Linked DNA regions of Homo sapiens: regions 2, 3, 4, 5, 6 and 7 are each linked to region 1. The links are contacts of gene promoters, found by promoter capture Hi-C in blood cells and fetal thymus (Javierre and others, 2016). All regions are on one chromosome and are shown on one strand. The core of a region is centred on a gene start or on the middle of the fragment in contact, and the rest is flanking DNA. Distances in the headings are between cores, read along the strand shown. Region 1 holds the start of PGRMC2 (progesterone receptor membrane component 2). Region 2 overlaps C4orf33 (chromosome 4 open reading frame 33). Region 3 overlaps SCLT1 (sodium channel and clathrin linker 1). Region 4 overlaps SCLT1 (sodium channel and clathrin linker 1). Region 5 overlaps C4orf33 (chromosome 4 open reading frame 33). Region 6 overlaps SCLT1 (sodium channel and clathrin linker 1). Region 7 overlaps SCLT1 (sodium channel and clathrin linker 1).

Region 1 (2,700 bases), core at 22-2,521:
GCTAAGTGAAAACACAAGTCATTATCAACGTGTACTTGAAAAGAGAAAAAAAAAGAAAAAAGAAACCAGAGACACGCCTGCTGGGTATAGGAGCTCCACCCCCAAAACTCAAGGTGAATATCCTTACCAGTCTTTAATAAGCTCTGCATTCTGGTCTGTTCTCATCCCACATACCTTGTTAATCATGGAAAGCAACTCCGAACTAAAACTGGTTTAAAGAGAGTCCGAGGTGTTGCTTATACGTCTGGACTTCAGAGACTGGAGGGTTGGGACTTTACATGCCCCTAAACGTGGCCTTACGGAGTAATACAGCGAGGGAAAAAAGGAGATCAGTGGCAAAAAAAAAAAAAAAGGGGGCAAGGAAAAGAAAACGGTGAATTACAGAGCCCAAAACTTTAGTTTAGGTCCCAACTTCAGAAATCTCCCTTCCCTGGTGCCCCATCCATCCCAGGAATCAGGAGACTCAAAAAAGGTTAAGGGCCAGCGTTGACCTGTGACAACTAAAACGATTTTGAAAAATCCAGCCAAAGAAACAAAAAAAAAAGGCTGCGAGGAGAAATGGGATGGAAGAAAGATGAATGCTGAGAGCTGGTCTCTGGGGCGCCACCGGGGACCCTGGTTTCGGGGGAAGAACTGGAGGTGCCCGTAGCTGCGGGGGGACGGTGTGTGTGTAGGGGCGGGATGGGCCGTCCCAGGTGCGGCGGCCGAGGCGCGGGGGTCCCGGAGACGAGAAGGCTGGGCAAACTAACCCGGTGCCCAGAGGCCTCCCTGTCCGAAGGGGGTTGTGCTTCAGCTGCAGGGGGTCCTTCCCCTCCCCTTCCAACTCCTCACCCGGGCCGTAGAACTTGCTGCCTTTGGTCACGTCGAAGACTTTCCCATTGACCGCGAGCAGGATGCGCGGGTTGCGGGAGCCGTCGTACTGGCGCAGCTGCTCCAAGCTGAAGTCCCGCTTCTTCATGCGAGGCAGAGAGGTGGCGGGGCTCTCCTCGCCCGCCCCGGCCCCGGCCCCCAGACCCCGCCGCCCCCAGCGCACCCACAGCCGGTAGGCCCCCAGCAGCACCAGAGCCACCAGCGCCACGTTCAGCAGCATTTCCCCGCCCCCCGTCAGAAGCGCCAACGCCGCCGCCGCCCAGCCTCCCCCTTCCGCTGCCGCTCCCGCGTCGCCTGGACTCTCGCTGCCGCCGTCGTTGCTGCTCTCGCTGCCACTCCCCAGGGTGCCTAGCTTCACGTCCCCATCACCAGCCGCCATCACTGCCCGCCAGCGCCTTCCTCCTCCTCCCCGCCCCCTGCCCTCCCCAACCCCACGGCCGGCCCCGCCCATCTGGGGGCCTCTCAGCCAATAACGTGAGAAGAGGGGGCGGGGTCAGGCCGGCTCCTGATTGGGTGTTGACGGGGTAACGTTGTCTCGGATCTCCCGCCCCCTCCCTTCTTTCGCTGGCCGCGCACGCGTGCAACGCCCCGCCCACCTCGCCCCACACTTCCCTGCTCTCACTCCAAGCCTCCGCTAGGTTAAGTAGACGAGCCGGGCGGGTCTGAAGAAAAGATGCTACGACGGCCGCGCGGACGCTCATGGGCGGGGCGAGACCACAGCGCGTGCGCGGGCTCCTGAGCGCCACGCGCTCGCCTTTCGTTCGTAACCCCTGCGGGAGGCACGCCCCGCCCAGTCTCCAGGCTCTGCGCGTGCGCCCTGGAATCGCTTCCCTTCCTAGGCCTGCGTTCGCGTCCGCAAACTCCCGCCTCCTTGCGCTCCCCCCGCCCGGGAGCTTCACGTGCGCCTTGGCGGCCGCGGGGGCAGGTCCGGGCTGGACGCCTGGCGGAGGACGCGGGCAGGTGGCTTGTGGGAGGCTGGGGCATAGTTGAGCTGCAAGGCGCAAACCGATGAGGGGCGTCTGCTTTTCACCAGGGCGCCGTCGCTTTTGTCGGGAAACCGGCAGCGTAGGCGCGCAGACCGGGAAGCGGCAAGAAGATTTGGCCACGAGCTGGGGTCTTCCTGGAACGGAGAGAAAGCACGGAACCCGCACCGGGCTTCTCTGGCATCGGCAGTCTACGTGCTCCTCGCGCTGGCACCGAGCAGCCACTCCCCGCTGGGTTTGGCAAAGGCTGCTCTTGTAGAATTTTAAAGGATTTAGAGTCTCATTATTCCTTGAATCATAACTTCTGCGGCCGTAGGGAAGTGGACAGGTTGAGGTGGTCTTTCTATTCGTCATTCACTCTTATTTGCAGGTTCTGTTTCATGTACTTGGACGTCTTTTAGCCTCTCACACCTTGAAATTCTAGTGTGAAAAAGTGACCTCTGAAGTCTCACGCACTCAACTCGTTTGACGAACTCGTTTGACGTGTTCTCTCTTGCCCTTTGTTGTCTGTTGTCTTGAGTCTCATAGAATAGGTTTGAACCTTTCACTGTCGGTTTTGTAGGAGTCACTGAGGATATTGACGAGGCAAGTGACAGGGTCGACACTCTTGTAGAGAGGCTGTATAGCAACCAGGTGTCTGAAGGATTAGAGGCTGGGGAAAGAGTGGGAAAGCAGTTAGTAGGCTAGGGTATTTGTGCGTGAGGTGAGGAGACTCAGAGCTAGGGGAGACATTAGAGCAGGGGTTGGCAAACATTTTTTGTAAAGGGCCCGATCATATTTTAAGTCTCTGCCTTAACTACTCAGCTCTACCTTGTAACGAGAAAGCAGCCATAGACAATACTTGAAT
Region 2 (2,700 bases), core at 89-2,588, 810 kb after region 1:
TGTTAATTCAGAGCTGCCTCATTCATTTTAGCAGTTATACAGTGTTTCATTGTATGGTATAGCATAATTTTTTTTACCAGTCCTCTACTGATGGGTATTTAAGTTGCTTCCAACATTTTGTTATTATGAACAATGCTACCACAAATATCCTCAACGCTTATGTCATTTTGAATATGTGCAGGTATAGTAACTCCTAGAACTAGACTTATTTTTGTCAAAGGATAGTTGCATTTTTATTTTGATAGATATTGACGTATTGCTCTTCACAGAGGCTATATCAATTATGCCTCACTAGCAATAAATGATTTTTTTCTCAATGCCTTCATTAACACAGCTTGTTGTCAGACTTTCTGATCCTTGCCAATCTAAGTGAAAAATGGTAATTTATTGTGGTTTTAGTTTGCATTTCTGTCATTATAAGTGAACATTTTGCATTTTCTCTCCGTGAACTGGCTGTTCATAATTTTTGGTCACTTTTCTGTTGGAGTGTTGGTCTTTTCCTTATTGATTTCTAGGAGCTCTTTGTGCATTAAAGAAATTAGTTATTTGTATCAAGTATGAATTGCATATACTTTTCCCCAGACTTTTGATTTTGTTAATGATAGGCTTTTGGAGTAAAGGGAACTTGGGAAGGAGGTTTTTGCTTTTTTACTATTATTTATCTATTATTAAAAAAATTCAACTTTTATTTTAGATCCAGGGTATATATGTGCGGGTTTGTCACATGGTTATATTGCATGATGCTGAGATTTGAGGTACGAATGATCCTATCACCTGGGTAGTGAGCATAGTACCCAGTAGTTAGTTTTTCAACCCTTGCCCCTTTCTTCCCTCCCCCCTCTAGTAGTCCCCAGTGTCTGTTGTTGCCATCTTTATGTCCATGAGTACCTACTGTTTAATTTCCACTTATAAGTGAAAATATGTGGTATTTGGTTTTCTGTACTTTCATGAATTTGCTTAGAATAATAGCCTCCAGCTGCATCCATGTTAGTTTTGCTATATTTATGTAGTAAAATGTTTGGGTTTTGGTTTGTATTTTAAAAGGTTTTCTCTACTAATGCAGGGAAAGCCCAGATTTGGGGCTCAGCCCAGGAGAGTTCTTGGCTTCATGCAGGAAAGGATTCACAAGCTAAAGCAAGTTTATCAGAGCAACAAACTACAGGAAAATGGCTGCTCCATAGACAGAGTAGGAGCAGCAGCTCCCATGAATTGTTGGCCAGCTGTATACATACAATTCCCTGGTTATATGCTAAATAAGGGGTGGGTTATTCATGCATTTTCCAGAAAAGTAGGAAGGGTTCCCAGAACTGAGAGTTCCTCCCTTTTTTAAACCATATAAGGTAACTTCTAGGAGTTGCCATGGCATTTGTAAACTGTCATGCCACTGTTGGGAGTTTTTTTTTGCATGCTACTGCATTATAATTAATGTATAATGAGCAGTGAGGGCAACTAGAGATCACTTTTGTTGCCATCTTGGTTTTAGCTGGTTGTGGCCAGTTTCTTTGCTGCATCTTGTTTTGATAAGATTCTGTTTCAATCAGTGGGACCTTGGTGCTCAGAAAACAAGCCCAGCTCATCTCCTACCTTACTACTATAAGATTTTATTTAACTCTCTTTTTATTTCCTGTTTTTATATGATTTTGATTTTTATGTTTAAATCTTTGATTCATCTAAAACTTACTTTGGTATAAGGATCCCACTGAATTAAATTGGACTGCAAAATGAACCAACTGATGTTGGAAACGGGTACCTCATTGATTAGTTACATGAGAACCATCCCAAACTCCTGTAGACTTATTATATATTATTTCCCCAGCACCTGGTATGGTACCTGAAATAAGATGAGTGCTTAATAAATGCTTGATAAACTAAATTGAAGGGAATTTCTGGGCTTATTATCTTTGTTATTAGCCATTGTATTGATCTGATATGTAGTGTTAAATGAGATGATGATACCACGAACACAGTAGATTTCTCCTGCACAAAATCTAGAGTGTTAGATCCAGGGACTAGAAAAATTATTCACTCAACAAATAAATAGTAACCATCACTTATAGGCATTCTAGCTGGGTTCAGGGAGTCAATAAACAAATATGTAATGCCATGTAATTGCCATGTAAGAATAGAAATAGAGCAGTGTATAGGTTAATAGAGAATGACCAGGAGGGGAGCGCTAGCCCAAGAGGTGAAGGACATTGACAATTAAGTTGTCTTTACTTAATGAACACATGTTCAAATACAAAGAAATTGAAAGGTTGTGGGGGTTAAATCTCAGAAGATTACAGAGGGAGAATCATCTGTCTCTAGTTTATGTTAGTTTTAAACTAGACTGTTAACTACTGGGCAGGACGGACTATACTTTTTAGGTTAATTTTTATAAATATTATGCATTCTTAGATTGACGTCAGTGTTCTTTAAGCGATATAAAGTTTAAAAAAAAAAACAAATTTGTCATTGCAATAAGAAACGAAAGTTGTTTATGCAATTAAAGCCAAAATTATATTCTGTCTTTGGACTGATCAGCCATGCACTATTCCCTACTTGTGGAAGTCTAGTCACTATTTTTTGCAGTAATTTTCAAATAATGCTCAAAGAAACCTTAGGGGGGAAAAGCAGAAGGAACCAGTAGAAAGGTTTGAGGTACTCACTACCTAATTCTTAACAATGGTAACTTTGCTTTTATCTTTTACTTCTTATCTT
Region 3 (2,700 bases), core at 137-2,636, 770 kb after region 1:
TTTGTGGCAGGTTTGGATGTAGAGTGCCCACAGAGCCAGGATCTGGACTCTAAGACACCCCTATCCACTTGGGCTGAAGGGCTGCGTTGTACTTGTGGTTCTATCCCTGGGTGGGGGCAGGGCACAGCACTGGCCCAACTCCTGAGAAGAAAAGGTACTCTGGAGATTTGTGCCTGAGAAGCAGAGTATACCTAGAAGTAAGCAACTTGAGCCAGTAGAGTTCAGTGGCATCTCAGATACCAGGGGATAAGACACCATGTAGTGGTGACTATAGACCCTAGGATGGTAAGGCTTATCTGTATCTTACTTTCTGTGAGGGCAGATGCGCGGCAGCAAGTTTCCCAGAATGGCAAAGTACAGTTGTCTTTCCAGCTTTGGGGGCATCAGAATAGCCCAACAATTAATCCACTCCCTAGAAAGAAATGTGTCTCTGCAGCACAGACTCTAGGGGCTAGTCCAGCTCCAGGGAAGCAGGGTATGAGATGTCTGGCCTGTAGGGTGGGGTGTTTCAGCTTAGTCACTGATGTTTCCTTGGGATAAGCAACTCAGGTCTGACAGGGCAGCAATTTCCCAGAAGGTGATAGCATACTTCAGATCAATCCTGGGGACAATGAGCATTCTGAGTGGTCTAAACACCATTTTGCTAGAATGTGGGATGCTGCTTCAAATTGAGGCATTGAGGAGATGTGATTGCTCTGAGTGGCTAAGGTGCTGTTCTCATAGGAGACAGGGTACCACTTTGGGTCCAGTCTGGTGGTGGGGGCGTGGATGGGGTGAGGGGAAGGTAGAGTAGTTCCACCTCTGCCTGGCCCACAGGGAAGGGTGTAACAGTTTCTCACAGCTCAGTCTTGAGATGCTGAACCACTGAGATGAGGTGGCTGAAAAGCTGCTTAGCCTCAGTTAATGAAGGGGAGCTACTTGCCCCCAGAGCAAGGCACACTCCAATTGCAATTTCAATTCCACAGTGCATAGCACACTAGTTGCATAAGCCTCAGGTGTCAGGGTACAGTGTTAGTTCCTGGTTATGTGGACTCTAGGTTGCTCCCTCAGATAAGCTTAGTGACTTTGAGGATTGCAGGGGACCCCAGTGGCGAGGTCTGTAGGAGTTAATGCAGGCTGCATTAACTCGCAGCCACCCCAGTGGCGAGGTCCGTAGGAGTTAATGCAGGGGACCCCAGTGGCAAGGTCCAAGGAGTTAATGCAGGCTGCTGAGATCCTCCTGCTTACCTTTCCCAAGTAGAGAGAAATTCCTCCTTGTTCCTAGCTGGTCCCAGTTGGGGGTTGGTGTAATGGAAGCCCGTCATTTCCTTCCATTTTCTACATGGCCATTTTGAGTTTCTGTGCCCACTTGGGTTTCTGTTACTCCTCTGATGCACTCTGGCACTCACTCTCGGTTATTTTTGTTAAAATGAAGTTATATGTTGTTCTGGCTATCTTTGTGAGGGGAACAATTGCTAGAGTCTTCTACTTGGCTATCTTGCAGATGTCACTTTTTCTCTTTTAACCTTTGTAGAAGAGGTAAAAGTGATTTATACACCACCATTACAGTGTCAGAATATTCTTGACTATAAACTTACTTTTATCAATGAGTTGATAGTTTCATGTTTCAATATTTTAATAAGTAGTATCACTTTGCTTCAGCTTCAAGAACTCTTTAGCATCTTTTGTAAATTGGGGCTAGTGGTGATGAACTCCCTCAGCTTTTGCTTGTCTAGGAAAAGCTTTATCTCTCCTACATTTCTGAAGGGTAGTCTTGTTGGGTAAAGCATTCTTGGTTGACTTTTTTTTTCTATCAGTACTTTCAATATACCATCCCACTGTCTCCTGATCTGTAAGGTATCTGTTGAGAAATCCATTGATTGCCTACGGAAGTTCCTTTGTATGTTATAAGTCCTTTTCTCTTGCTGCTTTTAGAATTAACTGTCTTTGATTTTTGACAATTTGATTATAATGTGCCTGAGTAAAGTCATCTTTGGGTGAATCTGTTTGGGAACCCTTGGGTCTTATGTCTGACGTCCAGACGTCTCCCAAGATTTGGGAATTTTTCAGACATCATTTCTTTAAGCTTTGTGCTTCTTTTTTTCTCTCTCCTCCTTCTGAGACTCTCACAATCTGTGTATCACTTCTTTTGACAATGTCTCATAAATATCTTAAGCTTTCTTAATTACTTTTCAATCTTCTTTTTTTCTTGTCTGACTGGGTAATTTCAAATGACCTGCTTTCAAGTTCACAGATTATTTCTTCTAATTGATCAAGTGTAATGCTAAAGCTCTCTATTGCACTTTTCATTTCATTAACTGTATTACGTTGCTATCTTAACATCTGAATCAGTCTTACGTTGCCATCTTAACATATGAAGCAGTCACCTCCTGCGGTCTTTACTGACTGGCTTTGGGAAACAAACAGCTTCACCAAGCTTCTCTTAGACATTTTCAATAGATGTACCCACTCCATACCTTCAGCCATTACCGTTTAGGGAGAATTCCTAAGACTATATGCTTTCTTTGGATCCCATTAAACTAGGCTGGGTGTTGAGAATATCCCATGTTTTTTTTGTGGGGGTAGTGCCCTGAAATGCTCAAGTTTGTGTGCATTCTCTAAATCCCAAAGAGTTGTGCCAGCTGACTGTGCTTGCATTCCCCATCTAGGGGGTGCACATGACAGCCAGCCATGGGGAAGGAGGGCAGTAATGCATATGAA
Region 4 (2,700 bases), core at 45-2,544, 660 kb after region 1:
TGTACACTACGTACTAATGATGTTCAATTATTTTATAGAAGAAGTGTATTTCAATATGTTTTTAAATTTTAAAGTAAGCTTCTTTTGTGACCCAAAATTAATCACCATTGATGATAATGAAGATCTTTAAACCTGTTACAAATCAGTTGACAAATTTAAATTTAATATCTTTTATTAAGATAGAACCCTGAGTGTATACAAAATGCAACATTAATATTCCACATATTCATATAGTAAGTTGCTTATCTAGGAGAGGGTAGTTTCAGTGCTAAATTTGGGATTTTACCTACATTCGTAACTCCTCCCATGTGATTTTTAATATATATGTTAATAACAAAGTCTGGCTCACACTTCTGGGGCTGGCAAGTGGTATATAAAGAAATGCATGTGTAAGTATGCTTCATATCCCTCTCCACCCAATCCACCATTTCACTGACAAATGATGATGGCCTAAAGAATATTTGGTTAACCTGGGGGTAAAAAAGGTAAAATGAGACAGCAAAGTTTAAGCCTTTAGAGAGAATTACCATACTAATTCTAGTAGAAATGCACTATAATACTAAAGCAAACATTAAAAATTACTATTACAAAGTTTTTAGAGATATTTGCTTATCACCACTGACATGCCTACCTTTGGGGGAAAATATGACAAAATAATAGATATTTTTTCAGGTACTCATGGAGTATTTCCAAAATAATACTCTATAAAAGAAGTCTCAATACATATTAAGAACCAACCATATAGACCATGATCTGTGCTGCCGACCTAACCAAATGAGAAATCAACAATAAAAGACAGTGTAAATCCTCATGTATTTAGAAACTAAAAAAAAGACTTCCAAAAAATTCATCCATCAAAGAAAAGATCATAATGAACATTTTATGTTACTTTTGTAAGTTTGAACATTTTATAATTAATTTTCTTATTTGATATAGATTAATAGCAATCTGCTACATGGCAGAATAAAACCTTGAATATTCTTAAGATAAACTACACCTTACCAGAGAAAACAAAGGCTGTTAGGTACGTGTTGGTCTCCAAAGGGAGATATGTAGCTTGAAATGTAATGGCTCCGGCTTTTTCTTAATCTATTAAATAATCTGCACACTCATCTAAAATACAAATTTTTCTCCTTCCTGTGAGCATACCTTACTTTTGGATCAGCAAAAGTATGCATAACTTCCTTCCTGGACTTCATAGTGTAAATAAATAGTATAGATGGATAGTATATTATACTAATACTATTAGTCTAGATAGTAAAATTGTTAATAATAGAAAACAATAGCAAGCATCAGGTTATTATGCTTCAAACTGTAGCTTAGATTTTTTGAGAAAATCTGTCTTAAAGTAGCCAAATATGTTTTCCTTTGAACATATTTTTAACATAATACTTCAAACTTTTCAATTACACAGTATAGTTCTCCCCATAGAATCAACATGACTATGAGATGTTTCATATCTTTAGAAAAATCACTTAGCTATGAAGTAGAATTGTTTTACTATAAGAAACACTTTTTGCAATAAACTGAAATTGTCATTCTTTTTACTCTAAAGTGAGTTTAATATAGCTCTGGTTGTTACACAGCTAACAACGATTTGAAAAATCCCTGGAAGTCTTAGCCAGTCCTTGTTCCCTTGAGAATACAGAAAGAATGAATATTCATGCCCTTGCAGAGTTTACCATCCATTAAATGATCTTGGACTGGGGTAGTACCCTTCTACTCCTCTTTTTCCACAAAGATACGAATCTCTTGATAGCTAATCAGCCCATGAAAGAAAACAAGCAAAATAACTGGGTGATAGAAAAGGAAGCAAAACTCCACAACAACAAAAAATTACATGTCACTAACTGGCCACATTGCATCTCACTAATTTTACTTGATGTTCCTACATTATTAAAATAAGTGACATTAAACAAACAAATACAAAATAAATATTCCTTGTTCTATTACATTTGGGACCAATACACAATGATTAAGATCCCGTCATGTGCTCTCCAAAGTTTGTAGAATGGCGAAAGAAAATGTGATCCCTCTTTCAGAGTGTTTAAATATACCATTCAGTTGATAAACATTTAAAAATATACTCTGCAAAACACTGTACTAGGCAAGCAACAGGGAAAATAAAGGAAGGCGTAAGACTCTACTATGTTGAGATGCTTACAATCTAATTGCAGAGGTAAGATTTTCATGGAGAGAGACAGAGTGTGTATGCTCAACATACACCTAAAGCATGATAGTTATTACAAGATATGATTCATTGCTAAATTTTGTAACAGAGATAAAAAGTGATACAGGGAGTCAGAAAAGATGAAAGTTTGTGAAGTTATAAACATTTTCTCAATTCTTGAAAATTGTTATACTTTTATTCTCCTATAAGCAAGGTTATTAAATTTCATTACATCAAATCTTCAAGTTAAACTTCTATTTCCAATCTCACCTCTAGCCACACAAGTATTCTTTTCCTCTCCCCTCTTGGCCTACTCATTCCTCAGTATTCATTTCTTTCAGGAAGCTTTCTGTATTTCTTCCTTCCCACTGTTATATATACTTTCTCTTTCTCCTTGGTTTCCCAGATAAACTCAGCATATGATAGGAGCTACAGCTAGCAATAGCATCCTGTGCATTCTCTGTCAAAGACAGGTAGTTACAGTAAAATGTGATAAATGCCATCTATCTTTCCTGCTAGAACATAAGCCA
Region 5 (2,700 bases), core at 167-2,666, 830 kb after region 1:
ATTCACCCATTTTACTCTTTGATAGCACTTTACCTCTTTTGTCCCATGTATCTCTAGATTTCTGTATTAGTGCTTTTCTGACACCTCAGTTATGTGGAACACCTGTGGGAATCTGCTAATCTACTCTGACGTATATGCAAACCTGGAAGTTTGAGGGAATTGACAATAGGGACAGGATTCAGTGGATAAATACTCCCCTTTTCCGTCCCTTGGGCAGACAATTCTGAAGTGCATTCTGTATAGTTCCTTAGTGGTCTCCAGTAGGACTCCACTAGGGTCTTCAGTTACCTACAGTACTGATCAGCTTAAAAATGCAATCTTAGATTGGCTTGCTTTATTTAATTTTTCCAAAGTTCCCAATCCCATTCCTTAGAATCACATTCCAAAATTAATGCACTGCACACAACCCTCTGCTTTTGTCAGGGGTAGAAGGGGTATCCAGCCTAAGGCACCTAAGTCCAAGAGGAATATGTGCCTAACAAATCTTCTAACTAAATATATATATATATATATATATATATATAAAATATATATGTTTATATATAACATATATATATAGAGAGAGAGCATAAAATGTGCTGTGTATGTGTGTAGCATATTTTTTGTTAAATCACCATTCCTGGGCCCTACTCATTTTCTGATAATTTCTTATCTTAATTTGCTCTGAAAGAGCAAAACTTATAAAATTGACTATTGTAACTCTATTTTTTACCAACTATCATTTTTCATGGAAGGAATAGTAAAAAGAGTTACCTCTGAAGCTAAGATGACACATGTATGAGGAATATAGGAAGCCAGAAATCATGAATCTATGAAAAGTGAGGGGTGTCTGTGCATATTTTATTTTATTTCATAATAAATAACCAGTAATTAAAATATTCTTTTCCATGTAATGGGATCTACGAGTAAATTTTTGTCTGATATTTATAAATCTAATATGTAATATAAAGGAGAAATAGGAAATGCTGTCAAATGACATTTCACTTTACTACTTATTTGAATTACAATGAAATAATATATAGCTACATCACTGGCTCCTGAGAGAGCTTTGGGTGTTCTGTAAATTTTTTACTTTGCACTCTTGAAAAATTCGCAGAGAATGCAAGGTTTAGTAAAAATTTATTTTCTTTTGGCAGCCTATCACCTGTAATTTCCGTTAAACAGCATTTCTGACTCAATAGTACACTGAAAGCCCATGTTTGTAATAATGCCCTAAAGCACTGCAGTACCTAGAGTATATATTTTGAAGAGATAGCTTTGCTGAAATAGAAAACCAAACTGTAAATTGAAGTCTGAGCATTCAGAGAAATAAAAATTATGCTAAAAACAAACGTATGTTTTTGAATTAGTTTTTTGAAAAATGGCAAAAAGATAATATTAGTTAGTGATATTATTAATATCATTAATATCACTAAATATCATTAGTATGCTTTGGCATACACAGCAGAAACACCAAATGTCTTATACTCCCACAATAGACTGGGCTTTCCTTTTAGCTGCCTGACCTAGTGCAAGTGGCCTCATTGAAATATCTAATACTTATTGAATACTTATTATTTTTTCAGAAACTATATTAAGAACTTTACCCTTACTTTTTACAGCAATCTCAAAGAAAGTCAGATACTCTTGGAATGCTTATTTTTAAAGTTAATGAAACTAAGACCTACAGAGTTAAGTATCTTGCCCAAGATCATACAGTTAAGAAGTAGCAGATTTGAACCCAGGGAATTTGATTCTCAAGAGAAGGCACTTATTTACTATGCTGCTGCCTTTCTTAGTCTTCATTACTCATCTACAAAATAAAGCTATTGAGAGTGATGTCAGCAAGATGGCTGACTAGAAACACCTGGCATTCATTCCCACCACAATAGAGGACCAAGGCAATGAATAAACAGCTAAGATTTTGACTACGGTGTTGAAGGGAGAGTGCTGGAGTGTGATGGAGGAGTAGTGATTGGAAGTCTACGAGGGTAAGGTGGAGGTACCTGTTGTCTGCAGCTTCATCTTCTCTGCCTGGATCAGATATACCTGGAGTCAGGAGAGACTTCACATGTGGGAAAAGGATAAGCAGGAGATCCCCACTGTCCCCCAGCCCCATAGCCACCGCAAACACCTATAGTCCTTAAACAGAAGAATCCCATAGTTCCTGTAAGCCCCGAGTCCATCTTGGAGAGCTGCAGGGAATTTATGCAGCTGTGTTGCACTGGATTAGTAGTACAAGGTGTATACTCCCCACCCCTACTCACCCACTGTGAGCCAAGCTGCTGCAGCATGGTGCCATCTTGAGACCTGAGCCATCTCTGGAGTGTGTCTTGCTCTGAGGTCAGTAGCCACTGTGCTTTTCCAGCACTGGGGCTCCATCTTCATTATGCCAAACCCACATGGATGATTGAACCTCACAACCCAGCTGTGGGGAGTCTGGGCTCAGGATTGGCTATGACTCTGGTCTTGTATGGCAGAGAAACCAACCCCCACCCCTGCTTAAGGCAGGAGGAACCGTATACCAGTCCTTCCCAGGACGAACCTGCCCTCGAGCCAGCCAAACTGCTGCATGCCTTCTTCCAAGTGGGAGAGGTCTCTGAACATCCGAGCAGCTGATACACCCAGTGGAGTCGGCTATGTGCCCACACTCAGAACCTGAGAAACAGCCCTGCACCCTCACATCCTCCCCTAACCCCACCACAAACACACCCCTGGGCC
Region 6 (2,700 bases), core at 131-2,630, 750 kb after region 1:
TTTTCAGAATACAGATCACATATGCACTTTGGCAATTTAATAAGAACAAGATAAGTAGAAATGGGGAAAATATATGAACAAGCATTTTATGAGAAAAGAAAACCACATAGGTAAATAAACATATAAAAATGGTCAACAATGGGAGGCTGAGGCGGGCAGATCATGAGGTCAAGAAATCGAGACCATCCTGGCTAATATGGTGAAACCCCGTCTCTACTGAAAATACAAAAAAAATTAGATGGGCGTGGTGACGGGCACCTGTAGTCCCAGCTACTGGGGAGGCTGAGGCAGGAGAATGGCACGAATCCGGGAGGCGGAGCTTGCAGTGAGCCGAGATCGCACCACTGCACTCCAGCCTGGGAGACAGAGCAAGACTCTGTCTCAAAAAAAAAAGTCAACAATATTAGTATTCAGGAAAATGCAAATTAAAACAACAATAAAAAAGTATTTAACAGTCAAAATGATGAAAATTAAGCTTAACAAGAGCTACAGGTATTAAAAGATATAGATCAATATAAACTCATAAATATCACTGGTAAGAATGTAAATTGGTACACCTATTTTGGAAATTAAGTTGATATTATATTGCAAAATTGATATTCATATAACCTATAATCCAGCAACTTCCTTCCTTGAAACTCTTGCACTTGTGTATGTTATTGAATAAAAAAGTAAGTCCTAGAACACTAGATGATACCGTTTTTATACAGTCTTTAAAAATGTAAAACTAAAAAGTATATCGCTTGGAGATACACATACCTATAAAAAAACTGTAAAAGCAAGGGAATGATAAACACAAAATTCAAGATAGTGTTTATCTCTGGCAGAGAGAAAGAGAAGGATGGGAAATGGAAGAAAAACATGGATAGATGCACCAGCACTGGCAACATTTTAACATTCAAGCTGAGTGGTAGGCTGAAAAGTTTTCATTTTATCAATATGTTTTCTAACATACATATATATTATATACTACATTATTGATTGCTAATATTGGTAAGGTGATTATTTTGTATGCTACTCCAAGTACTTACTTTATCCCTTACAGTCAGCCCTATGAAATAGGTTCTATTATTATCTCTGATTTATAGAAGAGGACACTAAAGCAGAAAGGGAAGTAACCTGTCCAGGGTCACACAGCTAACAAGTAATCGAGCCAGGAGTCAAATAGAAAATCAGCCCCGGGGTCCACATTCTTAACTATTAATACTATAGCTATCAAATATCAAATAACAAAAATAAAAGTTACCTAAGACAATAATAAAAGATAAAACCAATAGTTAATTGATTTACCTTTCATTTTCCTTGATGACATTTTCAAGTTGTAATTTCATCTCACCCACCTGTTTCTGAAAGAATAAAATATGGTGTGGCAATACATTTTGCAGACAATCAGATCTCCATTAAGTAGACCACTCACGTAAGCAATCAGATTCTGACACTAGTTTACAGATAAGAAAGACTTATTCTTTATTTATAACAAAGGGATAATTAATATGGATAATTTACTAATAAACAGAACACAATAAAACATTCATTTTAAGTAGAATATAAATAAAATAGAAATATTTTATGTAACATGGTGAGAAATGTTTATAAATGTAATTCCTATGACTTGTAGTTGTGAAAAACAGATGAAAGATATTCTGGAGTATGTCACTATAACAAATACCAGATGGTTCCTGTATCTTGAATGTATATCTTAGTTAATTCACCTCAGTTTAGGTGAAGCCCATATAAGTATGTATATTTTTCTAGTATTTCAAAAGGTAAAATGCTAACAGTAAAGAAGAAAATGGAGGTCTTTTTTAGCAGTCATTCATTCAGTTTCTGATTCACCACCTTCATTAACTATCTAAACTCTCCGTACCATACAAGGCGCTAAGGTAAACAGACATGCTCATTGAAAAATAGTAGGAAAGATGGTTAAAAAAAATCCTAACTAAAATACAAGGCAGAATAAAATGCACACCAGAAAGGGAATTAAATGAAGGTCTGATTAACGTTCTCTGAAGGAGTAAAAAGATGTTAGGATTTCAAAAGAAAAGAAAGCATTTAAAGTTGGCGAAAATATGAGTAAAAGCAAAATAGCAAAAAATAAGTAGTCAACTCTCAGTAAGTGTGAATGAGCAAATGGAGAGTGTGCGCGCGCGCACACACACACACACACACACACACACACACAAAACCCTGAATTTACATGTAAAAGCATGCAAAATCTCACTTAAAACGGTAACTAATTCATGATTGTGTATTAGTCTTGATTGTGCTTCCTAAGCTAAAGGAGAGAAGCTTATCCTGGAGTACACTTTCGCAAGGGCCAGGTGGAACAGGCAGTTCTGCCAGCCTTTTTCTCTCTCTTTCAACCGAGAAGATCAAGGAAGCTTGGTCTAGGAGATCAGAATAGCAAATTCTAACTATAAATTTGGTTTGAAAGGTGAACTTTTCCAAGGTCCTCGTTATGCCTGAAACACAATTAAACCAACATGGATTAATTCACTACCAGATAATTGAGCACTGACCATATATGGACTGATACAGTGAGAGATAAAATTGGAAAGACAGGTACAGGGTTTTAAGAATGCCATGGCAAGAGGTTTGGATTTATTGTAGCCATTATCTTAATTTTATAGTTTTTAAATAATTTTTTCCCCTAAGATGGGGTCTCACTCTGTCTCCTAAGGTGGAGTGTGAGAGCACGAT
Region 7 (2,700 bases), core at 187-2,686, 790 kb after region 1:
TCTTGAGCTTTAATTAGTATAATCACAATGCATAATGCAGGTGCATCTGAAAGGCTAGAGTCACCATTATGCTATCTGTTAAAAACATCTTTCATAATCAAGTCAACCATAGCTTTCCACAGATATGATGCATTACCGTGGCCAGAGTCATCTGGGGCTTTAAAATAAAAATTTTTTTTTACTCTTTTGTTCAGGCCTATTCCACAAGACACTAAACAGAAGCAAAAATCTTAAGATTCTGAGCAAAACTTAAAGGCTGTTGGAATATGAAAGATTCTCTATCACTTAAATTATTACAGTTATTAAGTATGCATAAAAATTATATATTATAATAAAAATAATATGGTTATAACAGCAAATAGTGAATGGATAGCTTCAAGACTCTGTGGACTCTGAATCTGGTCTTTGGAAATAAAAGCATAGAGCAGTCAGCTAAATATTGAATATACATTAAAAAATATCTATAAGAATAAGTACTCAAGCCAACCAAATAAACTATTCCTTTTTAATACTAAAAACAAGCTCTTCACTTTTAATACCTTGAAAATAATTTTAGTTCTGCATTAGTCCATTCTTGCACTGCTATAAGGAAATACATAAGACTGGGTGATTTATCAAGAAAAGAGGTTTAATTGGCTAATTGTTCCACAGGCTGTACAGGAAGCCTGGCTGGGGAGGCCTCAGGAAACTTTCAGAATGCAGAAGGTGAAGGGAAAGAAGGCACATCTTACATGACTGGAGCAGGAGGAAGAGAGAAAATGGGGAGGTACTACCCATTTATAAGCAAGCAGATTTCATGAGAACTCACTCACTATCAGGGGAACAGCAAGGAGAAAATTCACCCCCATGATACAATCACCTCCCACCAGGGCTCTCCTCCAACACTGGTGATTACCATTCGACATTAGATTTGGGCAGGGACACAAATCCAAAGTGTGTCACTCCACCCTCGGCCCTTCCCAAATCTCATATCCTCACACTGGAAAATACAATCGTCCCTCCTCAACAGTCCCCCAAGTCTTAACTCATTTCAGCATTAACTCAAAAGTCCACAGTCCAAAGTCTCATCTGAGACAAGACAAGACCCTTCTGCCTATGACCCTGTGAAATAAAAAACAAGTTAGTTACTTCCAAGATACAATGAAGGTATAGAATTGGGTAAATACTCCCTTTCCAAAAGGGAGACATTGATCAAAAGACAGGGTCTACAGGCCGCGGGGCATGTCCAAAACCCAGAAGGGCAGTCATTAAACCTTAGGGGCCCAAAATAATCTCCTTTGACTCCATGTCTCACATCTAGGCAACACTGATGCAAGGGGTGGGCTCCCACAGCCTTGGGCAGCTCTGCCTCTGTTGCTCTGCAGGGTACATTCCCTGCAGCTGCTTTCACAGTCTGGCATTGAGTGCCTGAGGCTTTTCCAGGCACATAGTGCAAGCTGTTGGTGGACCTACAATTCTTTGGTCCGGAGGATGGTAGCTCCCTTCTCACAGCCCCACTAGGCAGTGTCCAGTGTGGATTCTGTGTGGGGGCTCCAACCCTACATTTCCTCTTTGCACTGCCCTAGCAGAGGTTCTCCATGAGGGCTGCGCCCCTGCAGCAGGCTTCTGTGTGGACATCCAGGCATTTCCATATATCCTCTGAAATCCAGGCAGAAGCTCCCAGGCCTCAACTCTTGCCCTCTGTGCACCCACAGGCTTAATACCATGTGGAAGCTGCCAAGATTTATGGGTTCCACCCTCTGGAGCAGTTGACTGCGATGTTATCTGGGGCCCTTTTAGCCACAGCTGGAGCTGAAGCAGCTGGGACCAGGGAGCAATGTCCTGAGGTTGTACAGGGCAGTGGGGCCCTGGGCCTGCCCCCACAAAATCATTCTTCCCTCCTATGTCTCCAGGCCTGTGATGGTAGGGGCTGTGGTGAACATCACCAAAATGCCTTTGAGGCATCTTTATTGTCTTGGGCATTCAGCTCCTCTTTACTTATGCAAATTTCTGCAGCCAGCTTCAATTTCTCCCTAGAAAATGGGTTTTTCTTTTCTATCACATGGTCAGGCTGTAAACTTTCCAAACTATTATGCTCTACTTCCCTTCTAAATATAAGTTCCAGTTTCAGACCATCTCTTTGCAAACACATATGAACTTACACTGTTAAAAGCAGCCAGGCTACATCTTGAGTGCTTTCTTGCTTGGAAAGTTTCCTGCCAAATACCCTAAATCATCTCTCTCAGGTTCAAAGTTCCACAGATCCTTAGAGCAGGGGCACAAAGCTGCCAGTCTCTTTCTACAACATGGCAAGAGTGACCTTTACACTAGTTCCCAGTAAGCTCCTCTTCTCCATCTGAGGCCTCCTCAGCCTAGACTTCACTATCCGTATCACTATGAGCATTTTGGTCACAACCATTCAACAAGTCTCTTGGAAGTTCCAAACTTTCCTTCATCTTCCTGTCTTCTTCTGGGTTCTCCAAACTGTTCCAACCTCTGCCCATTATGCAGTTCCAAAGTCACTTCCACATTTTCAGGTATCTTTATACCAATGCCCATTCACTGGTACAAATTTTCTATATCAGTCCATTCTCACACTCCTATAAAGAAACATCTGAGACTGGGTAATTTATAAAGAAAAAAAGGTTTAGTTGGCTCATAGTTCTGCAGTCTGTGGGAGAGAGAGTTTCTGGGGTGCCAGATGAGTTGGTCTCCCCCGTG

Evidence for each region. Contacts are between HindIII fragments. The CHiCAGO score rates a contact against its expected background, and 5 or more counts as called.
Region 2: a contact is called between a fragment that was not itself captured here and the fragment with the promoter of PGRMC2 in region 1, in 16 of 17 cell types (naive B cells, total B cells, non-activated CD4 T cells and 13 more). The highest score is 28.9, in naive B cells.
Region 3: a fragment that was not itself captured here is called in contact with the fragment with the promoter of PGRMC2 in region 1 in 1 of 17 cell types (fetal thymus); the score reaches 6.1 in fetal thymus.
Region 4: a fragment that was not itself captured here is called in contact with the fragment with the promoter of PGRMC2 in region 1 in 4 of 17 cell types (neutrophils, total CD4 T cells, M2 macrophages and 1 more); the score reaches 11.3 in neutrophils.
Region 5: a contact is called between a fragment that was not itself captured here and the fragment with the promoter of PGRMC2 in region 1, in 1 of 17 cell types (neutrophils). The highest score is 5.9, in neutrophils.
Region 6: a contact is called between a fragment that was not itself captured here and the fragment with the promoter of PGRMC2 in region 1, in 2 of 17 cell types (M1 macrophages and monocytes). The highest score is 5.3, in M1 macrophages.
Region 7: a contact is called between a fragment that was not itself captured here and the fragment with the promoter of PGRMC2 in region 1, in 10 of 17 cell types (neutrophils, fetal thymus, total CD4 T cells and 7 more). The highest score is 13.2, in neutrophils.

Annotation. Positions count from the first base shown.
Region 1 is chr4:128,286,542-128,289,241 of GRCh38, forward strand. It overlaps PGRMC2 (progesterone receptor membrane component 2), which reads right to left and starts at 1,272. Exons shown (of 3, transcript NM_006320.6): 1 at 832-1,272. The coding sequence starts at 1,249. RefSeq lists silencers at 912-971, 1,152-1,201, 1,212-1,391, 1,712-1,901, 2,273-2,567. The HindIII fragment of the contact is 4,970 bases long and covers 1-2,700 here.
Region 2 is chr4:129,097,495-129,100,194 of GRCh38, forward strand. The region is part of intron 1 of C4orf33 (chromosome 4 open reading frame 33); the gene reads left to right. Among named protein-coding and RNA genes, the nearest start is that of C4orf33, 2.7 kb to the left of the region's middle. The HindIII fragment of the contact is 2,806 bases long and covers 1-2,700 here.
Region 3 is chr4:129,060,900-129,063,599 of GRCh38, forward strand. The region is part of intron 2 of SCLT1 (sodium channel and clathrin linker 1); the gene reads right to left. Among named protein-coding and RNA genes, the nearest start is that of SCLT1, 31 kb to the right of the region's middle. The HindIII fragment of the contact is 666 bases long and covers 1,054-1,719 here.
Region 4 is chr4:128,949,903-128,952,602 of GRCh38, forward strand. The region is part of intron 14 of SCLT1 (sodium channel and clathrin linker 1); the gene reads right to left. Among named protein-coding and RNA genes, the nearest start is that of JADE1, 140 kb to the left of the region's middle. The HindIII fragment of the contact is 2,437 bases long and covers 77-2,513 here.
Region 5 is chr4:129,115,307-129,118,006 of GRCh38, forward strand. C4orf33 (chromosome 4 open reading frame 33) reads left to right here. Exons shown (of 6, transcript NM_001099783.2): 6 at 1-1,331. Among named protein-coding and RNA genes, the nearest start is that of C4orf33, 21 kb to the left of the region's middle. The HindIII fragment of the contact is 5,561 bases long and covers 1-2,700 here.
Region 6 is chr4:129,037,751-129,040,450 of GRCh38, forward strand. It overlaps SCLT1 (sodium channel and clathrin linker 1), which reads right to left. Exons shown (of 21, transcript NM_144643.4): 5 at 1,291-1,346. Among named protein-coding and RNA genes, the nearest start is that of SCLT1, 54 kb to the right of the region's middle. The HindIII fragment of the contact is 1,814 bases long and covers 474-2,287 here.
Region 7 is chr4:129,078,222-129,080,921 of GRCh38, forward strand. The region is part of intron 2 of SCLT1 (sodium channel and clathrin linker 1); the gene reads right to left. Among named protein-coding and RNA genes, the nearest start is that of SCLT1, 14 kb to the right of the region's middle. The HindIII fragment of the contact is 5,094 bases long and covers 1-2,700 here.